Regions from separate parts of the Homo sapiens genome. Here regions 1, 2, 4, 5, 6 and 7 are each linked to region 3. Evidence: promoter capture Hi-C in human tissues and cell types (Jung and others, 2019). All regions are on one chromosome and are shown on one strand. Each heading gives the region's core, a stretch centred on a gene start or on the middle of the fragment in contact. The rest is flanking DNA. Distances are from core to core; before and after follow the strand shown. Region 1 has its middle 210 kb from the start of NAV3. Region 2 overlaps NAV3 (neuron navigator 3). Region 3 holds the start of E2F7 (E2F transcription factor 7). Region 4 has its middle 99 kb from the start of NAV3. Region 5 overlaps NAV3 (neuron navigator 3). Region 6 has its middle 240 kb from the start of NAV3. Region 7 overlaps NAV3 (neuron navigator 3).

Region 1 (4,321 bases), core at 1,025-3,524, 550 kb after region 3:
TTTTGAAATATTTTAAAATGCAATCAATTTTCTTCAACTTGGATTTCTGAAGCCACAACTCTATAATTTATAAAAGTTTATTTTGTAATTAGAAAAATTTCATGAAGGATTATTTATACCATTTTAATGAAGTATTTATTTTATTTATTTATTTTTTTGGGTTCGGGAGTACATGTACAGGTTTGTTACATGGGTAAACTGTGTGTCACTGAAGCTTGGTGTAAAAATGACCTCATTACCAAGATAGTGATCATGATAGTACCTGATCTATGGATCAGTGTTTACAGTGTCTATTGTTCCCATCTTTGTGTCCCTGTGTTTTCAGCATTTAGCTCCCACTTACAAGTGTAGGCATGCAGCATTTGTTTTTCTGTTCCTGTGTTAGTTTGCATAGGATAATGATCTCCAGCTGCATCCTTGCTCCTGTAGGGGGCATGATTTCATTCCTTTTATGGTTGCATAGTATCCCATTGTGTATATATGTACCACATTCTCCTGATAAAGTCCACCGTTGATGGGCATCTTTATTGATTCCATTATTCGCTATTGTGAATGCTGCTGTGATGAACATATGAATTCATGTGCCTTTTTAGTAGAATGATTTATTTTCCTTTGGGTATATACCAGTTGAGATGTTTATAGTGTGGACTCTTGTTTGTGCTGTTAATTGTCAGTCTTCTTCAATTAGGGCACAGACAAATTTAATTTTTTCTTCTCCAATTGGTATAGTTCCCTCTCTCTGCTGCTGTGGCATTTCATTTCAACATCATCTCTTCCCTTGTTTAAATGAGTTATCCATTTGTACACTAACTTGCGGGGCAGAGGGGGACATTATCCTCATAAACTTTGTATAAAGCATCAGTGATTTCACTATTCTTTCACCCAAGCTTCACCATAAAATTCATATTAGTTCTTCCATTTTAGCAGAATTCATGTTGGAGTGTTTTTTCTAACTGATGTTTTATCCTTCTTAGTGCCTCAAACTATATCGTATTCAGACATAAGAAGTTAGTATGAGGCCAGGCATGGTGGCTCACTCCTGTAATCCCAGCACTTTGGAGGCCAAGGTGGGTAGATTACCTGAGGTCAGGAGTTCGAGACTAGACTGGCCAACGTGGTGAAACCCCGTCTCTACTAAAAATACAAAAATTAGCCAGGCATGGTGGTGGGCACCTGTAATCCCAGCTACTCGGGAGGCTGAGGCAGAAGAATCACTTGAATAGGGAGGCAGAGGTTGCAGTGAGCCGAGATCACACCACTGTACTTCCAGCCTGGGCAATAAAATAAGTTAGTATGGGTATTTTGGTGCAAAAATTTTAAATCCCTGCATAGTTTTTTCACAATATGCATTTTTCTTGAACTTTTTGAAGACCCTTTGTATATATAATGTGGTACAATCACCAACATATACATAGGCTTCTGTGACTCACAGATAACCAGTGAGGTAGGGGGGACCAGTTTACAGGTGAGGAAATTGGGCTCAGAAATGTTAAGTTACTTGCCTAAGTTGACTCAGTAAATATCAGAACTGAGCTGGGAGACTAGATCTTCCTACCTCCAAAGCTTGCTATTTGTACTACATGCACACACAAAACCTGCTATTTGTGCTACACACAGGCGCGCACACACACACACACACACACACGATTATGTATTAAAATATGCTCCATGCAATTAGTCACCTCCTCTTTAAAAACTTATTGCTAGCTGTGTAGGTGGAATGATATTCTGCAGAAAATCTCAACAACTTTTCTACATTTCTTTTATATTTTATAATCCTAAGAGACTGCTAATAGACTTGAATTACTGATTATTTTAACTTGTCACTGGTTTCAAAATTTTTTGCAGCTCTAAAAGAACATAATAGAATTCGCTATAGCATTGACATGATACTAAATAGTCACTTATCTTTTCTATTCTTGTGAGTTTCCCGAGCACATCTTTTGTGACTTTCTCTTTAATACATTTCACAGTTTTTCTCATTGAGTTTCACATGTATTGGAAGCTCTTTGGACGGCTGAATATTGTTTTGCTAGGGTATACTGGACAATTTTTAAATTTTTAAATTTTGGTAAATTATTGAAATGTGAATTTTGATATTTTTAAAGTTTTGATAACTGTAGTAGCCAGTCCCCAGATGTTCCCCAGTGATCCCCACCATCTGGTGTTCTTGCCTTTGACATGCCTTCCTAAATGGAGTACAGCTGACTTGTGTAATGAATGGGAAGTTGCCAGAAAGATGGAATGTGACTTCAGGGATGGTTATAAAACTCATTGAGGCCCCTGTCTTGTTCCTTTGGATTACTTGTCCTGGGGAGATTCCTGCTGCCATCTTATGAGGTGACTTAAACAGCACTATGGAGAGAGGCATATGATAAAAAACTGAGACTTCCTTGTATAGAACCACCAGGTTTGTATGCCCACTATGCAGTAACATACCAATATACTAAGACAGCAGGGTTTGCAGCAGAGAAGCAGTCTAATGATTTCAGGGCGGCCAAGCAAGGAGACAGGAGGGATCCTCCAATCCACTTCCCTGAGGAATTCTGCGTTGGGGCTTTTAAGGGTATGGTGGAGAGTGAGGGGCTGGAAAATTGGATCTATTGATTGGTGTGGGTAAGATAGATGAAATTAACAGATGTGAAAACTGCATTCTTTGTTCAGCTCCTAGTGGGTTCCTTCAGACCAGCTGGTGTCAGTAATCTTACCTCAGTAGTTTCACCAGTATGCAAGACCTGAAATAATATCTCAAATGGAAAACTTAAATTTTACAATTTTCAAGTCATTATCTACAGAGCAGTTAAGGGAAACTATAATCTTGTGACAGTGTCTATGTGATTCTGAGGCAATAGTTAGCAAACAACCATGAGAAAGCAGGCCAGAAGCAAGCTGACCTAATGATTAATGCTGAGTGTGCAACAAGTTTGGTTTGGTTTTGTCTCTCCGCTTCTTGCCTGATTAGTAGTATAGAATTTTTGGAGTTGGTTTCACTCCTATCTAGATCAGGTGAGTAAACCATCTAGGCAATGGATTCCCCAGCCCCAGTTGAGCCTTCAGATGACTGTAACCTCAGCTGACATCTTAACTGCAGCCTCCTTAGAGATACTAAGCCAGAATCATTTAGCTAAGCTACTAACAAATTCATGACCCATAGAAACTACAAAATAAATGTTTACTACTTTAAGCCATTAAGTTTTGGAATAATTAGTTACCCTGAGCAATAGTCAACTATACAGTACTTCATTGGAATGATTTTAAATTTATAGATAGGCACTACTAAAACACAAGCAAAATATTAATTACTCTTCATAATGTTTTGTCTACTAGAAATGGCATACATTTTTTGTTCATGGACATGCAATATTCGATTGAAAAATAATTATATTAGTTGATACTATTGTTAGTATTTTAAGTTTAAAATAAATGAGATATGTGGAAAGTATCAAATTAAAATGTTGTATAACTAAATACTATCAAATTTATTTCTAAAATTTTGCAGTGTGTTTAACACGTATATATATAATTTCTCATAATATCAACAAAATAGCTTGAATAGATTCTACTTTAATAAAAATGGTAGTAATCCTTGAATATTACTTTTATGTCAGTATTTTATAGAATGTATTCATTGATTTTTGTAATGCTCCAGAGAAATAGAGAAAGAAGGAAGAAGATAGGAAGGAAGACAAGGCTGTACTTTGTTAGCACTCATCGTCTACAAATTAAGAATTAAAAGCACACAGAATCTAAATAAATGGATTGTCAGTAGCCTACTTGAGATTTCTTCTAATATCCAAAGGGCTTATGTTTCTTTCAGTTTCATTGTCAGCATAAGCTTTGTGTTATGCAACCAGAAAATATAGCTTTGAAATCTAAAGGACATAAGAATTGCCTTAGGAGATTTGCTTCCAAAATAAGAATCTTCTTGTCATAATCATTGAAAAGAATATATTTTTATAACCCAGGTTAGTACTATATTGGACACTTAGCATAATATTCTTCTTTCATAAAAGCATTTATTATAGTTTGTCATATTTTGAAAAGTGGTTTCTTACATTGGCATATTATCACTGCCAACCGTGATTCTTTGTGCTTCTTCAGAAAATAGAGCTCTCTCGTCAACCCCCCTTAGGTTTATTAATGCTATCGGAAGCCATGAAGCTTCCTGAAATATTTAAAAAATAACTTATGTCCATCAATAGTATTTTTTAGCTTCCTTTAGCTTCTGCTGCTTAAGGCCATGAATGATGTCAGGCAGATCAAGAAATCAGACTAAATCTTTTCTACTGTCCCTTTGTTCTGACCAGAACAATTGCATTTC
Region 2 (4,351 bases), core at 1,620-4,119, 940 kb after region 3:
TAAAACAATTTCACTTCTATATTAAAAAAACAAATTGTTGAAAGTACAGTGGCTTTTCATATGTATGATTTGTAAAACAAATTAGCTTTTTTAAAGTGATGTGACGCTTAATGAGAAGAAATCAGTAGAGAATTACAAACTGCACTTCAAAAGATACATCTAATATCATTTTAATAATGAAATTTGAAAAAATAGTGTGCTCGTTTTACAGTCTCATTAAATGAATTAAAATATCAGCACACATTGTAGTAGGTTATCATTGGCAGAGAAGGCTGAAATAGAAACGTTACAATGGGATGCACTGCCATCTGAACATTATGTCGAAGTGGAACGCGGAAACATATTTCTCAGAACAAGTGGTAAAATGAAAACAGCATCATTTGTAAAGCATTTCTTTTGAGAGTGCTTCAGTTTCTTCTCCTGATGACCTGCCATTCAGAAACTGACAATGAATAATACACTCTGACACCAGCATTTGTCAATTTGCCCAGAACCATATGAGAGTACTCTAGACAGATATATGTTCCGAAGTAAACCAAATACCTGTTAACTGTAAATCAAATCTTGTAGAAACCATGCCATGGTTCCTTTGGACATATACTTTGCATGCCTGAAGCAAGTTACCTTAAGAAATCATTCTTTTGTTTTACAAAACTTGTATTAAAAAATTAAAAATGCAAAAAAGCTTAATATTATTAGGAATTTATCCATAGCTTTATTTGGAATCCAGTTTCTTTATTATGATCTATAAACATGCATCATTTGATGGAGTTCCTTAGTGGAGAGGTGTTTTTCCATGTTGCTAAGAAACATGCCCCAGCACCAGAAGGGATACTACCTACCATCTTTTTGCCATTTCTCACCGTGATTCTTACATTGTACCTGTTTACTCACTGAACAGGGCTTCCTTCTCTTTGTCTAGATTCTAATCAGGTGTCTTCTGGTGTGGAAGCTTTGGCTTTTATTTACACACAACACAGAATTAATAAGATAGATGCCAAGGATTTAGCAACATTTTAATTCAACATTATACAGGTATCAGAGTTAATGAGAATTATGCATTAGTCTTTAAATTTGGGCAGCTTATTCAGCTAAAACATAGATGTCTAGCTCTTAAACACTTTGTTTTTTTAATTACTCTGAAATTACAATAAAGTCAAAGAACTGAACTGTTTTCTTTTCAAGCCAGTGCAAATGTGCTTTAGTTATTATTTTACTGGTGATCTAATTATGCATTTTAATGCTTTATTACTTAATACTTATATAAGCCTAAAATACGTTGTTAATGTCATAATTTCAGGGATTTTAGTATTCTTTCCATGAGTTACCATAACTAGGTGCATATGTGTAAATATATGTATATATCTATATCTATATATTTATATCTATGTATATATCAATTTATAAGACTAAATAGACTTGGCCATATGTGTTGTTGGTTTATGCATACATGCACAAATATTGAGGTGTCCACAAAGTATATATGCCTGTACATAAATTACATACTGGCTGGTGAGTGAATGTAAGCTTCTCTAAATTGTACAACTCTCCACAGAGTGGCACTCTAATATTGCAAAGGTACAATATAAGCATGTGCAGAATGAACAGCTCTTCTAGGATCCCTATAAAACTCCACCCCATGTTTCTTTTGAGTCACTATAAAATTGATGACTGAGGCAATACACGAGCAATTATTTATGCAAAGCAGTGTGAGGAGGTGCATGAGGATCCACTTAATACCAAGACATATTTAGATTTGACTGCCACTTTTCTTCAACTTAATTTTTTTAAAGCATTTGGTATGTTGTTGTGGAATTAAAGTCCTAATTATTTATCAAAATAAGTGGCATAGCCACATTGTTTAATCATTTTCCTCTTTCCACCACGATCTGTGATGCTTAAAGTATCCTATATTCAGCAGGGACCATCTATATCAATGAGCACAATGCCTGCCATGCAGGAAATACTTCAGAAATGAATGGTGCTTTTGTCATCATTTTTGTTGTCACTTATTATATTTCAGAGTTGGAACCTAGTTTACTTTTGTCAAAGCAACGCACTATTCAGTGAGGAAAAAGAGATAAGCGATTAAGAATCATCTCTATGTCCTTTCTCAGACTGATACCACTCTTGGTAACATGGTGCTAACTCTACAGCTAACTGAGGTTCCAGAGAGAAATGTCCCACTATAAACTTTCCATATGCCTGTTGTGACTGCCACATTTACATCCATGTATTAATTTTAGAACTTGGTTGGCATTGTTCCCAAGTCATCAATATTGTTTATTTACAAGATGAGATAACTAGACATTAGTTCTGTGAATTTAGATGTTTTGCAAGTGTGAACGAATATCTATTCTCACATCAACTCAGAGGAACAGGTGCAAGTAAGATGCTAAAGAAGAAGGTATATAATACCTGAATAAAGTGTCTTGTGTGATGTTCTCCCCATTTATATCCTGCTCACCAAGGAAGAAGGAAAACAAGGAGTTACCCAATTAACTTGACTGTGCGATAAATGTGGCTTGCTGGAGAGCCATTTCAGCAGAATTTCTGGCATGCAGTAAACATGTGGAAAGAAGAGACAGTGAAAATCTTCCAAATGTTTGAGTCAGATAAAAATGAGTTCCAATTTAGATTTTGTTTTTTCTAAGTTTTGCCATATGTATGATTGAAAACAAATTATCTTTCTAAGTTTTCATTTTCTCATTTTTAACAAGAGAGATCATAAGCATATTGTAGATTATTATGGGTTTAAATGAGATACCATGTATGAAGTACTTATTATGTACTTGGAATAAAGTAAGCAGTAGATGAATAATATTATTTGGTTATGGTGGAGTTGGCAATGGTGAGTGTAGGTGAGGTATAAGAAGAGGAAGCAGAAGACAGGGAGTGGAAGCAAATTGCTATTTGGGGACCATAGACAAGAGGTAAGGCTGTAAGCAGAGATAGCCCATAAAAATGCAAGATACAAATCCATTTTTGGAATGCCTTTAAATATGTGCATTAGAAATCTGTTATTTTCCCCATGCTGAGATTCATTCATAGTCAGAAGTTGAGTAATCAACATTCAGAAATATGTCATTGAGACCAGGCTACTTATTCCTGAATATATAAATGGCAACGATTATAATTTGTGACTACATTCATTCTGTAGAAACTACAGGTGCTGCCATTTCAGCTGCTGTTGTGCAATCTTTACTGTGAGGAGTCCAGAGAGACTCTTATTATTCCAGTGCCTTCCTGATGCACAACAACCTATGATTTGCCCTCTTAATGAAATCTGAAGCATCTCATTGCCTCTGTATAGGGACAGGCTGTGGACAGATTTAGAGCGGAGCTTCAGGAAGTATCTTATATGTGTGTACTCGCCTGAGAATGATGTTACAGCTGCTGTTATGACTATTACTGTGGGTTGGATGTGGATGTCATAATTCAGAGTCCCTCTTGTTTCAGTTTTGGGTGCAGTGATGTTGAAATTCCTCTTCTGTACTTGAACTTCTATAGCAGTCTTCTAGCTAATGTCTTCAACTTGTTTCTCTTTTCTAAGGAAAGAGCACCTTCTCTTATGTCCCTTGTTCATCAGCCAGTTAAAAAAGCATCCTGACTGGTTCTTTTCTACCCTCTCCGATCAACCCCACCGAAGCTCCCAGGCACACTCTTACTTCTTAACCTAGTTGTAGATGCACAGAAGATACATAACAAGTATGTGGACAAAGAGATGAGAAAAAATGACATTAGGGGAACCTGAAGAGTTTATTTTGGTTTTAGAGATTATTTGAAGCAAACTGCTAAACATCCAGGTGAACTCAGAGCTAGCCAAGGTTCTGAAAGTTCAGTAAAAAATGTTAATATTGCATAGCTATGAAACATTTAATGAATTTAGCAATTTGGGGGACTGTGTTAAGAAACAGCCCTTTAAAACTGAAAAGGCCAACAGTTTTCAGAATTTGTGAGTCTACTCAACCCTTGCTACTCAAAGTATGACTTGTGTGTGAGCAGCAACGGCATCATTCAGAAGATTGTTGGCAATGCAGAACCTCAGGGCCCACTGCAGACCTGCTGTATCACATGTGCATTTAACAGGATCCCCAAGTATCATGTGTGCACATTAAAGTTTTGAGAATGACTGTGGTAAACACTTAGAATGTTTGACATTCCAAGAAAATTATAGAGCTTGGGCTGTAGAGTGACAAGATGTGGGGTCAAAGCCTAGCTCCACCATACACTCCTCATTAGATACCTAAATCATTGAATGAAGCTTACTAAGCTCTGGTTTCTACAAATGGGAATTAGGAATATGAGCCCTTCCCACTTCAATGGGCTGTTGTGAAATAATGCAGTTAGA
Region 3 (3,877 bases), core at 1,169-3,668:
GTCACGGTATTGCAGTGCTCATGTTCGAGTAACTCTTATTTGACTTCATAATGGCTCCAAAGCACAAGAGTAGTGATGCTGGCAATTTGGATATGCCAAAGGGAAGCCATAAAGTGCTTCTTTTAAGTGAAAAGGTGAACGTTCTTGACTTAAGGAAAGAAAATCGTACGCCAAGGTTGCTAAGATCTACTGTAAGAATTAGTCTCCTATCTGTGAAATTGTAAAGAATGAAAGAGAAATTCATGCTAGTTTTGCTGTCATACCCCAAACTGCAAAAGTTATAGCCATGGTACATAAGTACTTAGTTAAGATGGAAAAGGCACTAAATTTGGGGGTGGAAAACATAAACAGAATAAACAGAAATGTGTTCCAACTAATGGCAATCTGGTTCACTATTATCCACAGTTTCAGGTACTCACTGCAGGTCTTGGAACACATTCCCTGTGGATAAGGGGAACTACTGTATTTCTTTACCTAATAAAAATAAATCAAAATGCCGGACAAAAAAAAAATCCCTAGATGGGGGAGCATACAATTTCGCATCTATCCTAAATTAGCAATTATCAAGTATTCTTCAAAGGCTCATATGAGCCTGGGTTGCTTTGCAACCAAGGAGTTTCACTGTTGATGCTAAGCCTAAAAATAAGACCAGGAGCTCGGAGAAGTTCAATGCCCAAGTTGCTACTCACAGATTTATATTCAAAGTTTCTAAAACTTGGTTTGTTATTTCTATTTGCCTGTGCCTAAAAATGCTCAGATAGTTTAGACATTGTTATGGCCAGTTTACTTTGTAATGTTCTTGAAAACAACATCTTGGTCTTACAAATCACAAGGGGTGCAAAATGTAAGGGAATGGCTCAGTGCAAAACTAGCAACAGTATGGTAAAATATTCAGAATATACTGATGAGTTCAGCCACTTTATCTCCCTATATAGTAGGCACAGGTCTACTCTTGGGTGAATGGAACAGTCTCTGGGAGCTAGTTCATTGGTATGAAGACATTTCACAGCACTTTAATAATCCAGCATTTATGCCTGCAAAGGTCTATTTTCCTGGGAACTGAGGCTTAGCATTCCTACAGAGCACTAGCTACACCACCCTTGACAACTGTATTATAAACTTTGATTGCTGTAGCCAGCATATTTTTGACTTATATAAATTGGTTACAACATTACATGTAACCTTGCCTATTTTTCCCACTATATCTGAGAGTAGAATTCCAACAATAATGGTTTGGATGGCTCTATTTTTAAAAAAGAATGTTTCTATAATGTTTATCAATATTAATTATTATGCTTAAATACAAATACAAATGGCATGTTGGAACACTTAATTGAATTCAACATCACCATCCTTAACATATTAGAAACTAAGGTGTTTATGTTTGCTTACCTTTTGTGCATTTTCCCCATCTTCAACTGCAAAATCTAGTCTGGGCTGCCTGGGGCTGATCAGGTCTTTTAGTGTTAAACAATTTACCTCCATCTGTAATGCACAATTACACTAGAAAATGATTTTGCAATTAGGTATTTTTTCCTCAAACAAAAATATCTACATATGTGTTACTTGTTTGTCAATATGAAATTCCCCCTTCTCTAAGCACATCCTGGGCATTTCCAGGAGTTGTAGCCACCCTCAACTTTCTAAAACTCACGCGAACAAACTCAAACACCTAAAGTGTGCTTAGTAATACTGAAAATCTGGGAAGAAAAAAATCTACAAAAATAGTAACTCCTTATGAAAAGCTAGATGGCAAAATAAAGTTACCAAGTCGGAAGGGTGTTGGGCAAATCTGTCAGAAAAGTACAGGGTCTCCCAGGTCAGTTAATTTTGGCGCAAAGAACTGAGAGGAATTCGGCTTTGAGGGGTTTTGAATCGGGGGAAGGAAACCCGATCGCTAGACCAAACCCACTCAGCGCTGAGCGCAGCCCCTTCCCAGGCCTCCAAGCAGATCCCCCAAATAAACTTCTCCAATGAAAGCTCCAAGTTGTGGGGAAGGGCAAATCCCCTCTACTGCCGGGCCGGAGTGAGAGCTGCACCCGGCACACCCTCTGCGCACCGGGTTCCCCGGCAGAAACACCTCGAGCCCTCGCCAGCCGGGGGACGTGAGGAGTGGCAGGCTGGCAGCCGGGGCGGGAGTGGGCCCTGTATCCCAATTCCCGCCTCCCCACTGGCGCTGGGGCCGCACGCTTACCCCTGCTTTCCTAAGGAGGCTTCCTGCCTCTGCAGGGACCTCCACGGACCCAAGCCGATGAGGGAAGGTGGTGCGGCGATCAGCAGCCGGGCGGCGGCATCGGGAAGGGAGAGCGAGGCGCGCAGATCCCCGCGCCGAGTGCCCTGGGCTGGCGGGGACCCCGCGGCGTCCGGGCAGCGCCAGCGCTCAGACCGGCCGAGCGCAACTCCAGCCTGGATCGTAGTCCCCGCTAAAACACCTCCTCTGGCGCCTTGAGACCGAATTTGAGAATCCACCAATCAGCGGCGGCCGGCGGGGCGGCCCCGGCCAATCGTGCGGCGGCACGGCCCGGGCTCACCGCCCCTCGGAGTCTTGGCGCTCCGAGCCGCGCGTTTTGCCCTCACCCGCCCAATTGTTGCCGCCTCGGCCCCCTCCCCCTTCCGGGTACCTGGAAACCTCGGGCCCGGGAGCCAATTCCTGCTGGGGACGCGGGCCCCGGCGGCCGCGGGAAGCCAAGGTGGGGGCGGCGCGGGGCGGCGCGGGGCGGCGGGAGAAGGAAGAGGAGGAGGAGGGCTCTTTTGTTATGCATAGAAGACCCGCGCACGTCCCCGCGGCTTGCCGCGCCCGGGGACCCCGGGCACAGCCAGAGGACAGGAAAGCAGATGGGGTTTGGAAGAACGATCTACACCCTCTGGATGCTGCTGCCGCCATCCCCGCCCGCCCTCAGCAACCTGTGCGGAAGCGGAGTTGTCCAGACTTGCCGGGGCAAACTTCTTAACATCGCACGCTGGTGTGACACATGAACCATGGTTACCGCTCTGCTGCGAGCAGATGGCACGCCAGTTAGCCCTGGAGACAAGACTGGAAGCCAAACCAGAAGTTTTTCTAACTTTTTTTTGTTTGTTTGTTTTGTGTGTGTGGCAAATCCGGAAATGTTTTTTGGTGTTCCCTTTTCGGCAAATTGCAAATAATTAGGAGGGAAAAAGCTTTATATAAAAAAGTAGTTCTTTGCAATAGGGACTAGCATTCTGGGAGACAGTCTAGAAAATTTCCTCAACACCACTGATCTGTATTAAATGTTTCACTTCTTTCATCCTACAGTTTCTTGTTTAAAATATGAATGTTGGTAGAGATGGACTTTTTACAAAACAGACTTTATTGTTTAGAAGTTTTCAATTTACAGAAAAATTGAGATAGTACCAAGAATTCCCATATATTCAGCACCCAATTTCACCCACTATTAACATTTTGTGTTAGTATAGAATATTTTTTGAAATTAATGATCTAATATTGGTACATTCTTCTGAGCTCAAGTCATTACTTTATTCAGATTTACTTAATTTTTTCCTAATGGCCCTTTTTTCTGTTCAGGATACCACATTACCTTTAGTTCCTATGTCTCTAGGCTCCTCTTGGCTATGACAGTTTCTCATACTTTCCTCATTTTTGATACCTGGACATTTTTGAGTAGTATTGGTCAAGTATTTTGTAAGATATCCCTCAACTGAAATGTGAGACAGCCTTCTTAAAGCATCAGACATTCTTAAATGTACAGACATGTCCCTACCCCCCATCTACTTTACAGCAAAGGTATCATTTTCCTTTCTATACCAAGACTCCATTCTTCACCACTTACCCTCCAAATATTTTTATTTTATTTTATTTTTGGAGACGGAGTCTTGCACTGTCACCCAGGCTAGAGTG
Region 4 (4,259 bases), core at 841-3,340, 670 kb after region 3:
AAGTAGTTTTAATGGCAAGGAAGGCATAGAAGCCTGATTTCATACTTGAAGAGTGAAGGGAAATCTACTTAGACATAGAAGACTGAGTTCATATATGTGTGTTTACTTCCTCTCAAACCCCACTAAAATATTAGTGAAGAATTAAAACCTACAAGAAAAAGGCATGGGAAAAGGAGGAAAAAAGTAAGGTCTATGACATTTGGAAAGTGAAATGTAAGATAAACATGGTGATCAGAGCATAGGAAGCTTATAACTAACTGAAGAAGAAAGGTCCTGCAAGAAATAAACAACGTTTTACCTCTGGGCCCTGGAATTGGAGGCAACAAAAATCACTGAAACAAGGAAGAAGAGAGAAGGCTGAAATTCTGCAGCAGCAATTCATCTTTCAGATTTCCTCCACAGCCAAATGACAACTCCTCCTAAATCCTGATATAAGGCAGGAGACTTACCTATTGGTAAAATTAAATCAGAAATATTCTAGACTTCAGGATATCAGACACAATAGAGGGCCTGAAAACAAGATAATTGATGAAAAATCTAGATACCAAGTAGAGAAGCCATCAACTCCTTCTTTACCCAGGATGCTATATCCAAGATTTAGCTCTCTAGGCAGGAGCATAATAGATTCCTATTTCAAGGAAGAGGTGTGTATATGGGAATGAGGGGTATAGAATTAATTTCTAGATATTGACATTTGAAGCTTGTTGAAAACATTCAGGCTCTACCCAATTATTCTAAGACCTGTGAACAAGTAAACTCTACTTAGTAACACAAACCTCACTCTCTACTTTTTAAGCCTCACTTTAACATATAGATTGCTAAGTATCCCAGGGAATTTGAGAAATTCCTTTAATGTAAGACAAAGGAAAATGGGAAAATCAGGAATAATAACTCAGAAGAAATTGAAACATTCACAATACAGTTAGCAAAAGAAAAACTTTTTAAAAAGCAATAACTGATATGCTCAGAGGAAAAATAAAAGACACAGGAAAGATGAATAGGATGAAATTTAAAAAGACATTTAGTGAACAAAAAGATTTTTAGAAATGAAAACACGTGATTCCGGAAACTAAAAAAAACAATAATGTAAGGATTGGAAATTAAAAGTGAGAAAAAGTTAGAAACAGCTAAAAAGAAAACAAAGGAGAATCATAATAGGTAAGAAAATTGAGGAAAGTAAACCAAGTAGTCTAGTATTCTAATTTATATATCCAATAAATGTTTATTGAGCATTGTTATGTGTCTTGCATTGTTCTAGGTGCTGAGGATATCAGAGCAGAATAAAATAAAATCCTATGATCAGGAGTTCCAATAATACAGAATTGAGCAAATGGAAGTGAAATAATTAGGAGTGAAATAATGCCAAAAGATAAAACAAGACTCTCTGAATTACTAAGTTTCCAGATTAAAAGTGCCCATTGAATGGGATGGCATAGTGCTTTTTTCTTTTTTTTTTTTTTAAAGAAGACAAAAAAGCACATAATCATGACATTTTTAAATACTTGGGATAAAGAGAAAATCTTAACAGCTTTCACAAGTAAAGGGCACATTTGAAGCTGAATATTCTTAATAGAAGTACTAGAAGCTAGAATAAAAACAGAATAATGCCTCAAATACTCAAAAGGAAAATGATTGCCAACCTAGAATTTGTATTCAGCTAATTTCTGAATGACATAAGGATTAAAAAACAAAGATAAATAAAAGTATTTCAAAAAACACACGGTTTCAAAATTCTTCCACTCATACAACTTGTGGTTCATCAAACTAAGGGAATAAATCAAGAATGAAGATAGCATGAGATTCAGAAATTGGAGGATTCAGTGCAGAAGAGAGGCAAAGGTAATCCCAGAACAATGAAGTTGAAGAAAGGGATAACACCTGAATACCAGTCCCATACAGCAGCCAGTCCTGAGTTTTGGAGGAGAAGGGAGGATTCCAGGGGAAGGTCTTTCAGAGAAAAAAGATAAGTTGCAATAATGGATTATCCTATATGTTCTATTGTAGAGAGTTATAGAAGAATTAATGACAAGAACACAGAAAATTGTGCAGTTTTCTTGAAGAGGTGCTCAATTATACAAAAAGAAAAAGTTGCTCACTAATGTAAATGATTTTATGATACGATATATAACCCAGCAGGAAACATATTTACCTAGTTAGTATAACATAAACACTGAATGTTAATTACTATCCAAATTGTGATTGGCAAATTCTAGCCAGGGTATAAAAACTAAGACTAAGAGAGAGAGGAATCTTCATTTTCCATATACGAATTCAAGAGATTGTTGAGCTTTTAATGGGAAACAGCATGGATATCATTTATCAACTTGAGAAAAATTCAAGAAGACGGAGCTAAAAGAGTTAAAATGGTGGCCTTTCAGGAATGAAACCTGATGGTGACACAGAGTAGTGCTGTTCTTATTAAAAATCTTTCCAAAAGTATTCAACTTTTAAAATGTTTATGTGTAGAATTTTCAATATAAAATTATATTTTAATTAAAAAAATAGTGGTTAGGTGCTGAAGAAGCGGAGATTGCAAATGTAGCACAATTGCAGCAAGACTTAAGTTACCAGGGGCAGAGGAAAGACAATTGAGGAACTGTTACTACATTTAGCATTGAGGGGAAGGACAGTTTTCATATGGGAGGAGCTCGAATAGGTTTATAGGCTACAGAGAACGAGTCGGTAGAAAGGAAGAGTTTGAAAATAAGGCAAAAACAAAACAAAACAAAAAAACTTACAAGATAAAACATGTATTTGGAATCACTGGAAAAGACTGAGGTTGCTGCTAATTTATGTTCTTTTTCTTCATCAAGGATTCCTAGTGCCTTTTCCTCCTCAAATTTAATGGCCTACTCAGCAGCCCATGTGCAGAAGTTATGAAGTGGGGCTGTTTATCTGTTGGTGAAGAGTTTTCAGAGAAGATCATGGTGTTGGGTTGCTGATATGGAATGAATAAGAACAGATGAGGAGGGACTTAAGAAGGGAGGTAGACATTACTGAACGTAGAAGAATTTGATACACACAGGGAAAATTCCTATACAGAGGGAGATTTGAAGAGGGCTCTTCTCACTGCTTTATGAGGTGCTTCCGTGGGTGGGTGATTCCAAGCTATAGGACATCAGCAGTGCGTGTGAGCTGCTTAATTTTTTTGTGAAACACTCCCAAAAACAGATAGAATTAAGTACTTCCTATAGACATTTATTACTTATAGTTCTGGTAATCATTGCTAACATTTACTGAGAGGTTATTGCTGACCCTAATTTAATTGTGAAATATGGATTGTCTCACCTGAGACTCACTACAACCCTGCGTGGCACAAATTGTTTTCATTCCCATTTTGCAAATGGTAACAATGAGGCACATATAGTTTAACTGGCAAAGGTCACTGAGCAAGTGAGCAGTGAAGCTGATATTTGCACCTAAGTAACCTGACTACTAAGCCTATGTAGATTAGTCATTATCCTATATCTGCAGTAACTACACTGTAGATGATGGAATAGCTAATGCACATGGCATTTGTTGAAAAAGCAGAGGAATTGAGAGTAGCTAAGTAAGGCTGGAGCATAGATGTATGATGCACATTTAAAGAGTACATGTGGGGAATTGGTGGAGGAAGAGTGTGAAGACATAAGAGAAACTGGTTCATGAAGAGCCTTGTCATAGTGAAGACCTTTGGGCTTTAGCCTGACAGCTAGAAGAAGACATTGAAGGATTTTAACTGGGAAAATAATATGATTGATTTTTTTTCCAGAAAGCACCTTCTTGCAATATTATGGAAAATTAATTGGAAATATCAGAGGAGGGGATATAGCAATGAGAACATTTATGAGACTGGCATTGGTTGAGGCAAAGTGTGCTAGTAGGCACAGAGAGGAGGGAACAAATATGAGAGGCATTAAGGAGGTACGTTTAATAAGATTTAGTGAAAGATTGGAATAGGGCATGACGAGTATTTGTGGCTTGGATAATTAGATGAAAAACCATTTATCAATAAGAGAAAAACAGGAAGAAGAGCATTTGGGAGATAAGAAAAATATGAATATACTTTGAGATAGATATTATTTGTGTGATCTGGAGAAATAAAAATGTGCACTAGGTACTTGGTTCAAAGCCAGAGAAAGAGAGAGAGAGAATATGTGTGACCTTTATTGATCTGGCTTTGGGTTTCACCATATAAATCACCTGTATAAATTGGAAATGGTTGCAACCATCTCAGAGAGATACAGCAGAGTTCCAGAACATCATCTGTGATCACTTGA
Region 5 (4,065 bases), core at 1,115-3,614, 790 kb after region 3:
CTATGCATTGTGGTTAATAGTGCCACTGTATGCTGTGGTAACCAAGATTTTGTATTTGATAGATAAAGAAAAGTTCTTGAATTTGGAAAACACTTTTGTGCTCAATGAAATCTAACTTTTGAGACTATTTTGTCACAATGAACTTAAAAATATTTTCAATAATATTAAGCAATCAATTATTTGTTACAGACTGAATTCTGTCTTCTTGTAATAATGATTGTCGTTATTTTAATGATTAGGGAAACTTTAGATCAACTAAGAAACAGGAACAAAAAATGCTATGCTATTATCTCAAAAATGCATACTCCTTCCTACTTAAGAATAATAAATTTATATATTATGATATGGTAAAATTCACAACTAATTGTATTTTTCCCTAGAATGTTTAAAGCATTATCTAATACCAGCTTCAGTGTCTATATTACTGTAACTTCATGAAAGACTACTAACAATACTGGCTATCATTTATTAATATTAAGTAGTACTTGCCAGATGCCGTTAGAGGTGCTTTAAATGCATTCTCATTTAGTCTTCGTGTGTACTACCGTTATCTTCACTTTTTAGATAAGGAGACTAAAGTATAACTAGAGCTAAGAAACATGAGAAAGACGACCTAGCTACTGCCTATTTTGTAATTCCCATGGACTAAGCTTGGAGAAGTAAGAACTATTACTACAATAGCAGAAATTGAACAACAGCTTCATTTAGGAAATCACAGCAAAAGTATAAATAAAATGATGACTCTTAGGAAATAAAAAGCAGTTTTTGAGAGTAGGGATAGATGTGGCCTGCTCATTATAAAGTTCACGTGTGGTAATGGATAACTGATTTTCAAAATAACAGTTTAAACTCTGAAAATTCTGTTATTCTGACTGGGTGCAGTGGCTCACGCCTGCAATCCCAACACTTTGGGAGGCTAAGGCAGGGGGATAACCTGCAGTCAGGAATTTGAGACCAGCCTGGCCAACATGGTGAAACCCCATCTCTACTAAAAATACAAAACTTAACCGAGCGTAGTGGCACATGTCTGTAATCCCAGCTACTTGAAAGGGAGGCTGAGGTGGTAGAATTACTTGAACCCAGGAGGTGGAGGTTGTAGCGAGCTGAGATCGCACCACTGCACTCCAGCCTGGGCAACAGAACGAGACTCCCTCTCATAAATAAATAAATAAATAAATAAATAAATAAATAAATAATGTTATACTTATGAAGAATAACAAAACATATGCATTATAAGTTTGTGAAAACGGCCTAGTAAAATATTTTAAAATTGTTATTGATGTATAATAGACACATACCAATAAAGTACACATACCATAAATATGTTTCATGAATTTGTAGAAAATGAACACATTTTTCCAGCTAGTAGAGAATAGGAAACAGACATTTACAATTGCTGTCTGACATTTACAATTACAATTTAGATTCCTTATTCTCGTAGATTTATATTATTCCAGTACGTGAATTCTCCCACAATTTATTTTTTATTCTGCTTTTAATGTGGGCATTTGGATAGTTTATAGCTTGGGGATTTATGAATAATGACACTGTGAACATTCCTGCACATGTCTTTTTGCGAACATAAGAAGCGATGTCTGTTGGGTAGATCCCTAGGGGTGAAACTTCTAGGTAATAGGCAAGACATATACTCAGCTTTCATGAGTACGATTACTGCCACCATTTCTAAAGTGGTTGTACCAGATTGCTTTCTTACTAACCTGAATGCATCTTCAGTTGCTCCACATCTCTGCCCTCTGGTATCACCATTGTTATGAGGCCACAGGTCCTTAGCATTTTCTATGTAGTGTGATTTTGTTGTAGTTTTAAGCTTCCATACACTTATGACTGATGGAATTGATTATCTTTTCTGTATTTAACTGGCCATTTGGATATCTTCCGTTGTGTTCATTCAGGTTTTCTGCTTACTTTTCTAATAAGTAGTGAGCCTCTTTCCTTAATGGTAGATAGAAATTTTTTAAACATTTTCTGCACATGAGTCCTTTGTCAAATATGCATATTGTGAATATCTTTTCCCATTCCATGGGTTGTGTTTTCCCTCCCTTAATAATGTCTTTTGGGAAACATAAATTCTTAATTTTAGTGTAATCCAATGTATCAATTTTTATCTTGTTTAAGAAACTCTACTGTTCAAAAATTTCAAAACTATTCTATGCAAAAAGCACTATTTGAGATGAAAATTGAATATGTGCAATACTTCTGATAGCAACATTTCAACATACACAATAAAACAGGCAGAATTGGTCATTGTACAGAATAGAGATAATCTTATCTCTATTTAAAAAAAAGCCACATTTTGTGTCAGATGATTTCTGAATCCAGTAAAACTCTTAACGTATGCATACCTTTTATAGTCAGTTTGGCAGACTTCTAAAAATCAGGAGTTAATATTTCATAAGGTATAAATTTTTCTTATACTGAGGTGAAAATTCTCTCTCTGTTAGTTCCACTTATTGGTTCTAGTTTACTAATATAGTCTTTTGTTCACTTATCTATTCAACACATATTATATGAATCCTATGACTTCTAAGTCTTGGAAAGGTTTCAGGGATAATTGAGGAACTCAGAATTGACTTTGGGAAGCAGTCTGTTAGCAGGTGTACATTTTTAGAGCTCATAGTCATACCAGTTGGTAGGAAAATGAAAAAGCCTCACCTTTTTGTCCTCTTCTTTGAGTAAAGGCTTTCAACTATTCCACACACAATATGAATTTCAGATGCCTTATCATCATGGTTATTCGTTTTCAGACATAGCCTAATTAGTTACTGATATATTTAACATTAAGATTAAAAATTAATAGAAAGCAATAGCCTACATGATGTTTCATCAGCAATATGGCTCCATTAGTTTCTAGAACTGGAAGGCAGCCTGTTTCTGTTGATTCAGCTTAGAGCAGCTCTATCATATTTTTGGCAGTACCTCATACCATGTTCACATACTAAACTTGAATTTGAATAAATCTGCATAAATCCCCTAAATCGTACTTTTATGATTATTATCAAACAAGTGTCCTCCAACTTTTTCAGTTAATTTACGAATGTACAAAACTTGCTGATCATTAGAAACCTTGTTTTCCGAGAACATTTTATGATATAGGACTATGTTTTCTTTTTGATGTAAAAGTAACTGAAGAAGGTAGGAAATAAAGCTATGTAATCATGATAAGCCAATTGTGTGTATGTGTGTATGTGTGTGTGTGTGTGTGTTTGTGTGTGTGTGTTAAAATTATTGGAAATAAATGTGCCAGAATATTTGTGGCACTTATCCTAGAAAACAACATATAATTTCAAATCATTTATGCTAATTCCAAGTTCATTTCCTTATCAATCATGCCGCCTCTTTCTACTATCTTTTCTAAATCTACAAATGAGATCATATACCGTCTAAATATTTTAAGTGTAAGCATTTATTACTTAGAAATGCTGACTAACATCTGGCCGGGTGCAGTGGCTCACGCCTGTAATCCCAGCACTTTGGGAGGCCGAGGTGGGTGGAGGCAGGCAGATCACGAGGTCAGGAGATTGAGACCATCCTGGCTAACACGATGAAACCCCGTCTCTACTAAAAATACAAAAAATTAGCTGGGCGTGGTGGCGGGCGCCTGTAGTCCCAGCTACTCGGGAGGCTGAGGCAGGAGAATGGCCTGAACCCAGGAGGCGGAGCTTGCAGTGAGCTGAGATCGCGCCACTGCCCTCCAGCCTGGGTGACAGAGCGAGACTCCATCTCCAAAAATAAAAATAAAAAATATATGCTGACTAACATCCTTTTGCATGTGTCCTAAAGAATTCAGGTGGAGAATGATCTTTTAATCAACATTTAAAAATTATAATTGTCTAAATATTTATACAGTTATCCAACTGTTCGGTATAGCCTAAATTTCAATATATTTTTGCCAAAAATAGTAAAATAATCATCAAATATTGTCTGAAATCAAAATTCTAAGCTTTTGTTATTTTTTTGGCTTCCCACTTAACATTGTTACAAAATGAAAGAAGGTCAGTTTGACAGAATCTATTCTTAGTGAATCTGTGATATCCCTAAAGGGTA
Region 6 (4,287 bases), core at 967-3,466, 520 kb after region 3:
CAGAGTGGCTATGTAACTTTCCCGAGGTTAACTGCTGGATAATGTTAGAGTTGTGATCAAAGACACATATATAATAGTTTCCAGTCCATCAAGTAGGTTCTATTATTTTTAAATCAGGCTAATATAATGTTTAACATCTTACAATTTCCATATGTATTTTAAACATTTATTTGTGCACATCCATCATTCCCAAATTTAACATACTTAGAAAAGATAGCCATAATGTCATGGGTCAGTAAAAATATCTATTTTGTTGAGATGAGGTCTCATTCTGTCACCTAGGCTGAAGTGCAGTGGTGTGATCACAGCACACTGCAGCCTTGACTTCATGGGCTCAAGTAATCTGCCTCAGTCTCCTGAGTAGCTGGGACTACAGGTGCACACCACCATATCCAGCTGATTTTTTTATTTTTTTTTTGGTAGAGAAAGGGTCCCACTACGTTGCCCAGGCTGGTCTTGAACTCCTGAGCTCAAGTGATCATCCTGCCTTGGCCTCCTAAAGTGCTGGGATTACAGGTGTGAGCAACCACACCCAACCAATAAGTATTTACTGTTATATTTGACCAGTAATAGGTTAGGAATAACCCCGTGGGGCACTTAAATTGAGCTTCTTTTGCCTTCTTGGTGCTTTCTCATACTGGTGTTCACACCACACCTGATGTTGCATTTTTCATGGATACCTTTTGTTTCTAATCACAAGGTTTCAGGCACCTTAAGTCCCAGGCCCTAAGCATCCCTGCGTCCCCAGTACCTAGCCTAGGGCCTAGTGCAGACTATCTACTGTGTGTGTTGAATGAATGAGTGATTATAATCTCCTTATAATAGGGACCTTAATTTGGCAAGTACTTATAAAGAAAGTAATTCACATGAAAAGTACAGGTATGAATTGTGAAAATACATTTTTAAGGAAAAAATTATAATTTTGACAAAATATTTTTATTTGAGAGGAACAAAATTCTACAACTTTGATTCTGTTTGTAAAATGTGAAATCCCTTTTGGTCTAGAGTTTTAGTGGGCTCTCTGCATACTGAGCACTAGGGAATGAAGGCAGTGGTCTGAATGTTAGGACTGGACACAGCAGAGCTATACCTGGGAATGAGTACTAAGAGTCCTGTACCCTGGACTGAGCTTTTAAAGTGTTATAGAAGCTTCAATCTCCATCAAAGCCAAAGCAACGTGGACTCACAGAGGATACAGATAAAGGATCTAGGTACTAAGACAAAAATTACTCCAGGAAGGAAACATTTTATAATTTTTCTCCCGTAGGAAGACCTTGGCAGCATGAAATAATAGGAAAAACACTTTGGGAAGAGGAAGACAATAGTTCAGATCCTGGCTCTGTGGATTTTGTTCAGTGAGTTAATCACATTGAACCTCAACTTCAGACCTCCTGTCTTCTTCTGAGCCCTCCAAACTGTTCTATCCTCTGTCTGTTACCCAGTTCCAAAGTCACTTCCACATTTTCAAGTATCTTTATAGTAGCAGCCCCCCTCTGTGGTACCAATTTACTGTATTAGCCGTCTGTTCTCCCTCTGCTATAAGGACATACCTAAAACTGGATAATTTATGAAGGAAAGAGGTTTAATTTGACCTACAATTCAACAGGGCTGGGGAGGCCTCAGGAAACTTATGATCGTGGCAGAAGGGGAAGCAAACACATCCTTCTTCACATGGGGGCAGGAAGGAGAAGAATGAGAATGAGTGAAGGGGGAATTCCCTTATAAAACCATCAGATCTCATGAGAATTTACTCACTATTGTCAGAATACCATGGGGTAAACCACCCCCATGATTCAATCACCCTCCACCAGTTCCCTCCCACCACATGTGGGGATTATGGGAGCTACAGTTCAAGATGAGATCTGTGTGGGGACACAGCCAAACCATATCAGACATCTTAAATTGACTCTGAATTTGATTGTCCACCAAGTATATTTTCCAGAGTAGAGGTGAAGAGAACAGGCTTTGGCGTTAGCCTGGATTTGGACACCATTTCTGCTCTTCCCTAGCTGTATCAACTTGATCAATTTGCTTAATCACATTTCTCTGTAAAATTGAGACAGTAACAGTCTTTTCCCATAGGGTTTTTTGAGAACATTAAGAGAGATAACTTATGTAAGCTTGGAACAGAGTAAGCCTCCATTAAAGATTAGTTTTATTGGCTACTGTAACTCCTGCATGGTACAACTAAAACATAACCTTAAACCTCTAAAAGGAAGAAAAAGTTGTCTATGTATAGATTAGAGTCATCTTTCCATATCATAAATGGCAAAGGAACCCCAGTAGAGGCTGTGCACTTAAATTTGCACTCAGCACTTTTGGTCAGGATTTAGGATGACAGAACTTGGATGGGTGGAGGACAGAGCTATGGATGATTCATCAATGATGGACTAAGCTCCTGGCCTGCCTTTGGCTTCAACAAAAGTCCGATAAAGTGAGATGGCTTAACAGCAAATTCTCCAGCAGAAGGAATGAAGTTAAGATCCCCACACCAAAGTTGGAGGCCATTACCCTTAGCAAACTAACACAGGAACATAAAACCAAATACCACATGTTCTCACTTGTAAGTGGAGCTAAATGATAAGAACCCTTGAACACACAGAGGGGAACAACACACACTGGGGTTATCAGAGGGTGGAGGGTAGGAGGAGGGAGGGGATGGGGAAAAATAACTAACGGGTACTAGGCTTAATACCTGAGTGATGAAGTAATCCGTACAACAAATCCCCATGACATAAGTTTACCTGTGTAACAAACCTGCACTTGTACCTCTAAACTTAAAGACCCGCACACTTGTGGTGGTTATTATTCACACAAATATGCTCATTCATGGAGATTATAATCAAGAGTTTATATATAAAAGCTTAAAAATAATTTGTGTATAGACACAGGTTTTTATAGTTATTAAGAAAGCAGGTTGTAGCGTCCTACAGATCTGGGTATGAGTGCAAAGATTACTCCTTTTTCTTGTGGTTGTAGTTCTTTTAGCTTCAGTTTATTCATTTGAAAGATGGGAATAATAATACTTGACATCATTAGGTGGTTGTGATAACAAAGGTGATAAACCATGTGAAGACTCTTGTATAGTACCTGCTGTGTAAGAATGGCTCAGGAAATAGAGAAGGAGGAAATACAGTTTTCAGACAGACAACTCGTCTTCTCACCAAATTAGTTTCCCTGAATGCTGCTAATAGTCATTCAACTGGAAAATGTTGGGAGAAAATAAAATATATGAGATAAAAACTGCTTCCTTTTGTGTATTTTGCATAAGCTTACTGCTCATTAAAATTTGTCTTCTTAATAAATTCCCTCAATGAATCATTTTCCATTTGAAACCTTATTTCTAAAAAAAGGTAGTGATTTGTTGGAAAAATCTGTTACTTCTATCTGTCTCAAATATGTTAACATATTCATCTGTTTTATTTACTTCTATGATTGATAGGATGAATCTTCACTGCTGTAGTTCCTTTTCAGGTTTTTAGGATTATTCCCTATGGGGAAATTTATAGTATGAGAAATATTTGTGATGTTCGTTATTTAATTGTTTTACACAAACTCCAAAGTTGGAGACATTTCTAGAAAGTGTATAAAATATACAGTTCATAGTGTTATCTCTACACAGAAGGAAGAAGCTTGTAGTTGGAGAATAACTGATTTCTTGAGTCTATAGAACCAACCAATACAGATAAATTGAGGAACCTGGAAACATTATCCATAACAATTTGATCAGCCATATTCAAGTGTGTCAATTGATTTCAAAACCATTTAAACATATAACATGTTATTCTAGATGTGCATGTTTAAAAATGTGTGTATCCAAGAGGCAATCCCATATAAATATAAAGATGTATGCCCATGTATTTATATTAAGATTGAATTTATGTATGTGTATGTTTGTATACTTATATATGTATGTGTATCTATCTATATCCTAATGTATACATATATGTTTAAGTCCATATGTCATATTAACTTTACTACTGATTAATTAGAAAGTCTACCTGATTTTTGGTAAAATTAAATGTTACAAATTTCTGAGATGATTTGTAAATTGTAAACTATATTTTTCATTCTGATGAAGCAAGGCATGTTAAATAGAATTCAATGGTAGGTTGCTTCATTGTTGTTAGAAACTAGAAATTCTGGGCCACTTAATGGGCAGGCACCACAGGAGCTTCGTTCGCACAGTGTCTGACTCCAAAACCAGCTTTGGATTCTGCCTAGCTCATTCGGCTTCCCTCCCAGGTTTCCAGATCAGAGAATTGAAGGCCAGCTGCTGCCTGTCAT
Region 7 (4,262 bases), core at 303-2,802, 840 kb after region 3:
GTATGTAAGTAGCAATCACAAATTATACGTTTATTTGTCAGCATGATGTTCCAAAACAACTTATATTCAAAACTGTTTATTTTCACATAGACTACTAATTACATATTGGAAAATAAACATAAATATTAAACTCACTGTATTGTAAATATAATATGAAGCCAAAAACATATGCCTCAAGAAAGTATTGGAGCTGACATATGGTTTATAACTTCTTGTGGGCTAAATACATTGTCCTTCACTGAAAAGCTTGGAAGTCTTTTATTCACTTATTTAAGGAATATAAAATGGTTTCCAAATGGGCATCACTTACCAAAATGCACATAAATGTGCTTTCTAGAAGGAGAAAAAACAATGATACAGGTATTTTTAAGATAAGGTAAAGCAATTTAAAAAGAATATATCCCTGTTATTCTTTAGCTTCCAGTGTCTAGTTTTTTATGATTGTATTGATTTTGTTTTATAGTAGTGTTTGAATTTTGTACTTTTTTTCCCAAAAATATTACTCATCTAAAAAGCACATTGCTTTCTTTGATAACTGGCTTAGAGATCATTAAAATATCTGATTAATGAGTAGATTTTTTTCACTGCTTTACTATTTTCAATATGTCAGAGAAACATTCAACCCTTCTAAGAAATTTTTCTGCTTTGCATAATTTATAGATCAGATTGTTCCTTCTCTATAATAATGGCACTTAATTTTTGCCTATGAAAATAGATTGTATAGTTTGTATTTAAAGAAGTTAAAAGTCTAAGTAGTGTAATTAAAATCAAGCTATAGATTTCATAGTTCAGTAAAAGTAACATAGATGTGGAAATGGGCTGACTGGATCCAAATCATGACCCTTTCATTTGTCGTTTCACCCTGCTCATGCTACTTAATTTCTCTCAGCCTCAGTTTCTTCATCTGTACAGTGGGGATAATAACGTTTGCTGATAGTTTTGTGGAAGGATTAAATTAGATACTGAATATAAAGCCCCTTATATATGTCCTAGATGTTACAAGTACTCAAAATGTGGCTACCGTTTTTGCTAGATTAACATTATTGGGTATAGGATTTTATAATAGTTTGATAATTAAAGATGATAATTTTTTCAACAGGAAATAAAAGTCACTATCTGTATCTTAACATATGTAGTAGAGAAACTTTCAGGAACATTTTTCTTCTCTGATCTTACTAAAACATCAGTTCAATTTGGGGAGAGCTTTGTCCATCCGGGTAACAACTGTTCCACCCTGATCAAGGGTGATCATAGTGAATACTGATAGGAAGAAGAAGCATAAGAAATACCAACTTAAAATCTTTAATTCCAAAAAAAAAGGGAAGAAAGAAAAGAAACAGTATGTTATTAGACAATTGTGGCACTGCATGCTGGTACCACATGGAAAAAAGGCAGATTAGCTTGTTATTTATCTTTCAGGTAGAACAAGTTCTTTACTAAAATATTAGCTGATGCAACATACTTTTGTCTTTTAAAATAAGCTACTGGATGAAGTTCAGCCACCTTTCAAATACATTGCCCATTATCTTATAAGATCCAATGGAAATAGAGAATTTAATTTATGACTTTCTTGTATAAATGCTTCTTCATGGATGCTTTATATAAAATATAATAATATCAATTTTTATGACTATTAAAGATTTTATTGAAATAGACTAGCATCAGAGTCTATAGTTAGAACATAAAATCTTAATGGTATCACAATTTACTTTAGACACACAAAATGAATGTCTAAAAATGGGTTTCATATAAATTTTTCATGGTGGGATAGATATTAGAGAACTAAGATATGTCATTATATATATGCAATCACTTAAATGCCTTTGTTGTTTTCATGTTTGAGACATCTTTACAATGTTCCTAATATTTCGATGTTAAGATTTTTAACAGAATAGCACGATTTTACTCTCAAGGCATACTTAAAATATGTCTCATAGGGAGTTTAATTAGATAGGAAATTTGGGTATTCTTATGTCTATTATTTCATTTTACATTGTTATGAAGGGTTATTTGAGACCGGGTAATTTATAAAGAAAAGAGGTTTATTTTGGCTCACAGTTCTGTAGACTGTACAGGAAGCACAGTGCCAGCATCTGCTTCTGATGAGCACCTCAGGAAGCTTCCAATCATGGTGGAAGGTGAAGGGGGAGCAGGCAGGTCACATGAGGAAAGAGGGAGCAAGAGAGAGAGGGGAGGAGGTGTCAGACTGTTTAAACAACCAATTCTTCCTTGAACTAACAGAGTTAGAATTCACTGATTACCATAGGGAGGGCACCAAGCCGTTCAGTAGGGATATGTCCCCGTGACCCAAACACTTCCCATTAGGCCCTACTTCCAGTATTGGAGATCACATTTCAACATGAGATTTGGAGGGGACAAACACTTATATTTAATAGATTGCTGAAAAGGTATCATTACTTAAAAATGATCTTTTGCCTATGTCTAAGTTTAATTTTGACCTGAACTTCAGCAATTGACTAGTGTCTGACCACCAGAAGCATTCCTGATCTCTGAGGAGCTGCAGTTCCAGCAACTCACTCTGTACCTAAGATTGGTGACAAAGAAAGCCCAGGCATCCAAACAAGTCAGCCCTTGAGGAAAAATAGGGCTGAAAGCACACAGGCTGCACCTTATATTCTGTGTTCAGGAGATTCCCCTAGAGACAGAGAAATAAGGTACACCCTAATAGGTTGGTGGTGTGCCACCAAAGTCATTTTGCTTGAAAGCTGAAGCATGAAAGAAAAGAGGTGAAACAGTAACCTAAAACATGAAGATACTGTGAGATACTGAAGTAGTATGGACACTTATCAGTAGAGACAAACAACAATGGACATGCAGAGGGAAAACTTTTTAAACTTTTGTATTTGAGAGAGAAGTGAATGGCTATCTTTTTATACCTCAACCGGCCAGGATGGTACTCTACCTGGGAAGTACTGTGTTTACTATAGAGATCGTGTATGAATGGAAGAATGAATACCCTTAAGGCAGTGCTGTGCCATTTCAACCCAACATTAGCTTTAGAATAACTAAGTCACAGTGTGTTTGGGGAGGGAGTAAAGAGCCAACTCCAGGTAAAAAGTGATCAAATGCTTCTGGACTTTTTGATAAAAGGCAGCCAGAAACAGATGATCTGTCCTAGTCTTTGGAAATTCCAGAATTCCCTTAAAGAACTGGATTAGAATCTGCCATTAACAAAATTAATCTAACCTGTTGGCCAGCATAACATTTTTCCACCAAGTAAATTTATAATGCACTTGATCCACCATGCCAGAAATGTTCAAGGTTTTCAATCTCAATCTTATGTCTGTGCTTCTGTTAAAAGATCAACTAATAAGTACACATAATGGAGTATTTTGGTTTATTGTCAATGCAAGAATCAGAATTGCATCCTATGTTGGACTTTTCCCACAATATCTTGGTAAATGATCATCTACTCTATATGCAAAAACATCAATTATTCTGGCAATGCTTCTTTAATTTTTTAACTTAAAAATACCTACAGATGGATGGAGTGAAAAATTACTCATAAGAGTTTACCAAAACTCAGTCTTCTGAACTTGAAAAAATGTATTCGAAGGATCAATTATTTATAGTACCCTATGTGAATTTTTCATTTTATGACCAAATGTGTTTATTTTAGTCTAAAATTAATGTTTTAAATCATTGTCATTAAACTAATTTTCAAGCAAGTTGAGCCACGCTAATTAGAAATATTCTTATACCACTGATCATATATTTTTTTTAACTCCAGGGTGTTCAGACCCCAGTTTCAGAAACACAGTCTTTATTATCAAACAGTTCTATGTTTAAATCAAGCCTTTACCTCACATTTGCTGTGTCATTCTGGAAAAGTAGCTTAACCTTAGCAAGATTTGTTTTTCACCAAGTTAAAAAGGAATGATACCTACTGCATTGAGTTTATGGCAAGCATTCCTTGAGGCAAGGTAATGTAAATTTCCTGGCATATAATACTGTTTGGGGTGGAATTGTGCCTACCAAAAAAGATGTGTTGAAATTCTAACTCCATCACCACCTGTGAATGTGACCTTATTTGGAAATGGGTCTTTGCAGGTGTATTTAAAGATCATACAGAATTAGAATGGACTATAATACAATGACTAGTGTCCTCATGAGAAGACAGAAGTTTAGACATACACACACAGAGAAAATGACATGTAACTATTGAGGCAGAGAATGAAGCCATGTGTCTACAGGCCAAGAAAGGCCTAATAATCTGACAACAAAATATGGTATTCCTTTGA

What was found. Contacts are between HindIII fragments. The study calls those that stand out against the background at their distance.
Region 1: a contact is called between a fragment that was not itself captured here and the fragment with the promoter of E2F7 in region 3, in 1 of the 25 tissues and cell types used here (mesenchymal stem cells).
Region 2: a contact is called between a fragment that was not itself captured here and the fragment with the promoter of E2F7 in region 3, in 1 of the 25 tissues and cell types used here (dorsolateral prefrontal cortex).
Region 4: a fragment that was not itself captured here is called in contact with the fragment with the promoter of E2F7 in region 3 in 1 of the 25 tissues and cell types used here (heart right ventricle).
Region 5: a contact is called between a fragment that was not itself captured here and the fragment with the promoter of E2F7 in region 3, in 1 of the 25 tissues and cell types used here (dorsolateral prefrontal cortex).
Region 6: a contact is called between a fragment that was not itself captured here and the fragment with the promoter of E2F7 in region 3, in 2 of the 25 tissues and cell types used here (bladder and dorsolateral prefrontal cortex).
Region 7: a fragment that was not itself captured here is called in contact with the fragment with the promoter of E2F7 in region 3 in 1 of the 25 tissues and cell types used here (dorsolateral prefrontal cortex).

Annotation. Positions count from the first base shown.
Region 1 is chr12:77,615,109-77,619,429 of GRCh38, forward strand. It overlaps a transcript of NAV3 not described here. Among named protein-coding and RNA genes, the nearest start is that of NAV3, 210 kb to the right of the region's middle. The HindIII fragment of the contact is 3,448 bases long and covers 551-3,998 here.
Region 2 is chr12:78,001,472-78,005,822 of GRCh38, forward strand. The region is part of intron 7 of NAV3 (neuron navigator 3); the gene reads left to right. Among named protein-coding and RNA genes, the nearest start is that of NAV3, 170 kb to the left of the region's middle. The HindIII fragment of the contact is 4,103 bases long and covers 819-4,351 here.
Region 3 is chr12:77,063,151-77,067,027 of GRCh38, forward strand. E2F7 (E2F transcription factor 7) reads right to left here and starts at 2,419. Exons shown (of 13, transcript NM_203394.3): 1 at 2,195-2,419; 2 at 1,393-1,485. The coding sequence starts at 1,485. RefSeq lists silencers at 2,259-2,308, 2,329-2,758 and enhancers at 2,367-3,073, 2,809-3,038. The HindIII fragment of the contact is 7,313 bases long and covers 1-3,877 here.
Region 4 is chr12:77,729,325-77,733,583 of GRCh38, forward strand. It overlaps a transcript of NAV3 not described here. Among named protein-coding and RNA genes, the nearest start is that of NAV3, 99 kb to the right of the region's middle. The HindIII fragment of the contact is 7,242 bases long and covers 1-4,259 here.
Region 5 is chr12:77,851,383-77,855,447 of GRCh38, forward strand. All of the region lies in intron 1 of NAV3 (neuron navigator 3), which reads left to right. Among named protein-coding and RNA genes, the nearest start is that of NAV3, 23 kb to the left of the region's middle. The HindIII fragment of the contact is 4,717 bases long and covers 7-4,065 here.
Region 6 is chr12:77,587,881-77,592,167 of GRCh38, forward strand. It overlaps a transcript of NAV3 not described here. Among named protein-coding and RNA genes, the nearest start is that of NAV3, 240 kb to the right of the region's middle. The HindIII fragment of the contact is 3,493 bases long and covers 471-3,963 here.
Region 7 is chr12:77,908,130-77,912,391 of GRCh38, forward strand. All of the region lies in intron 1 of NAV3 (neuron navigator 3), which reads left to right. Among named protein-coding and RNA genes, the nearest start is that of NAV3, 79 kb to the left of the region's middle. The HindIII fragment of the contact is 4,690 bases long and covers 1-3,897 here.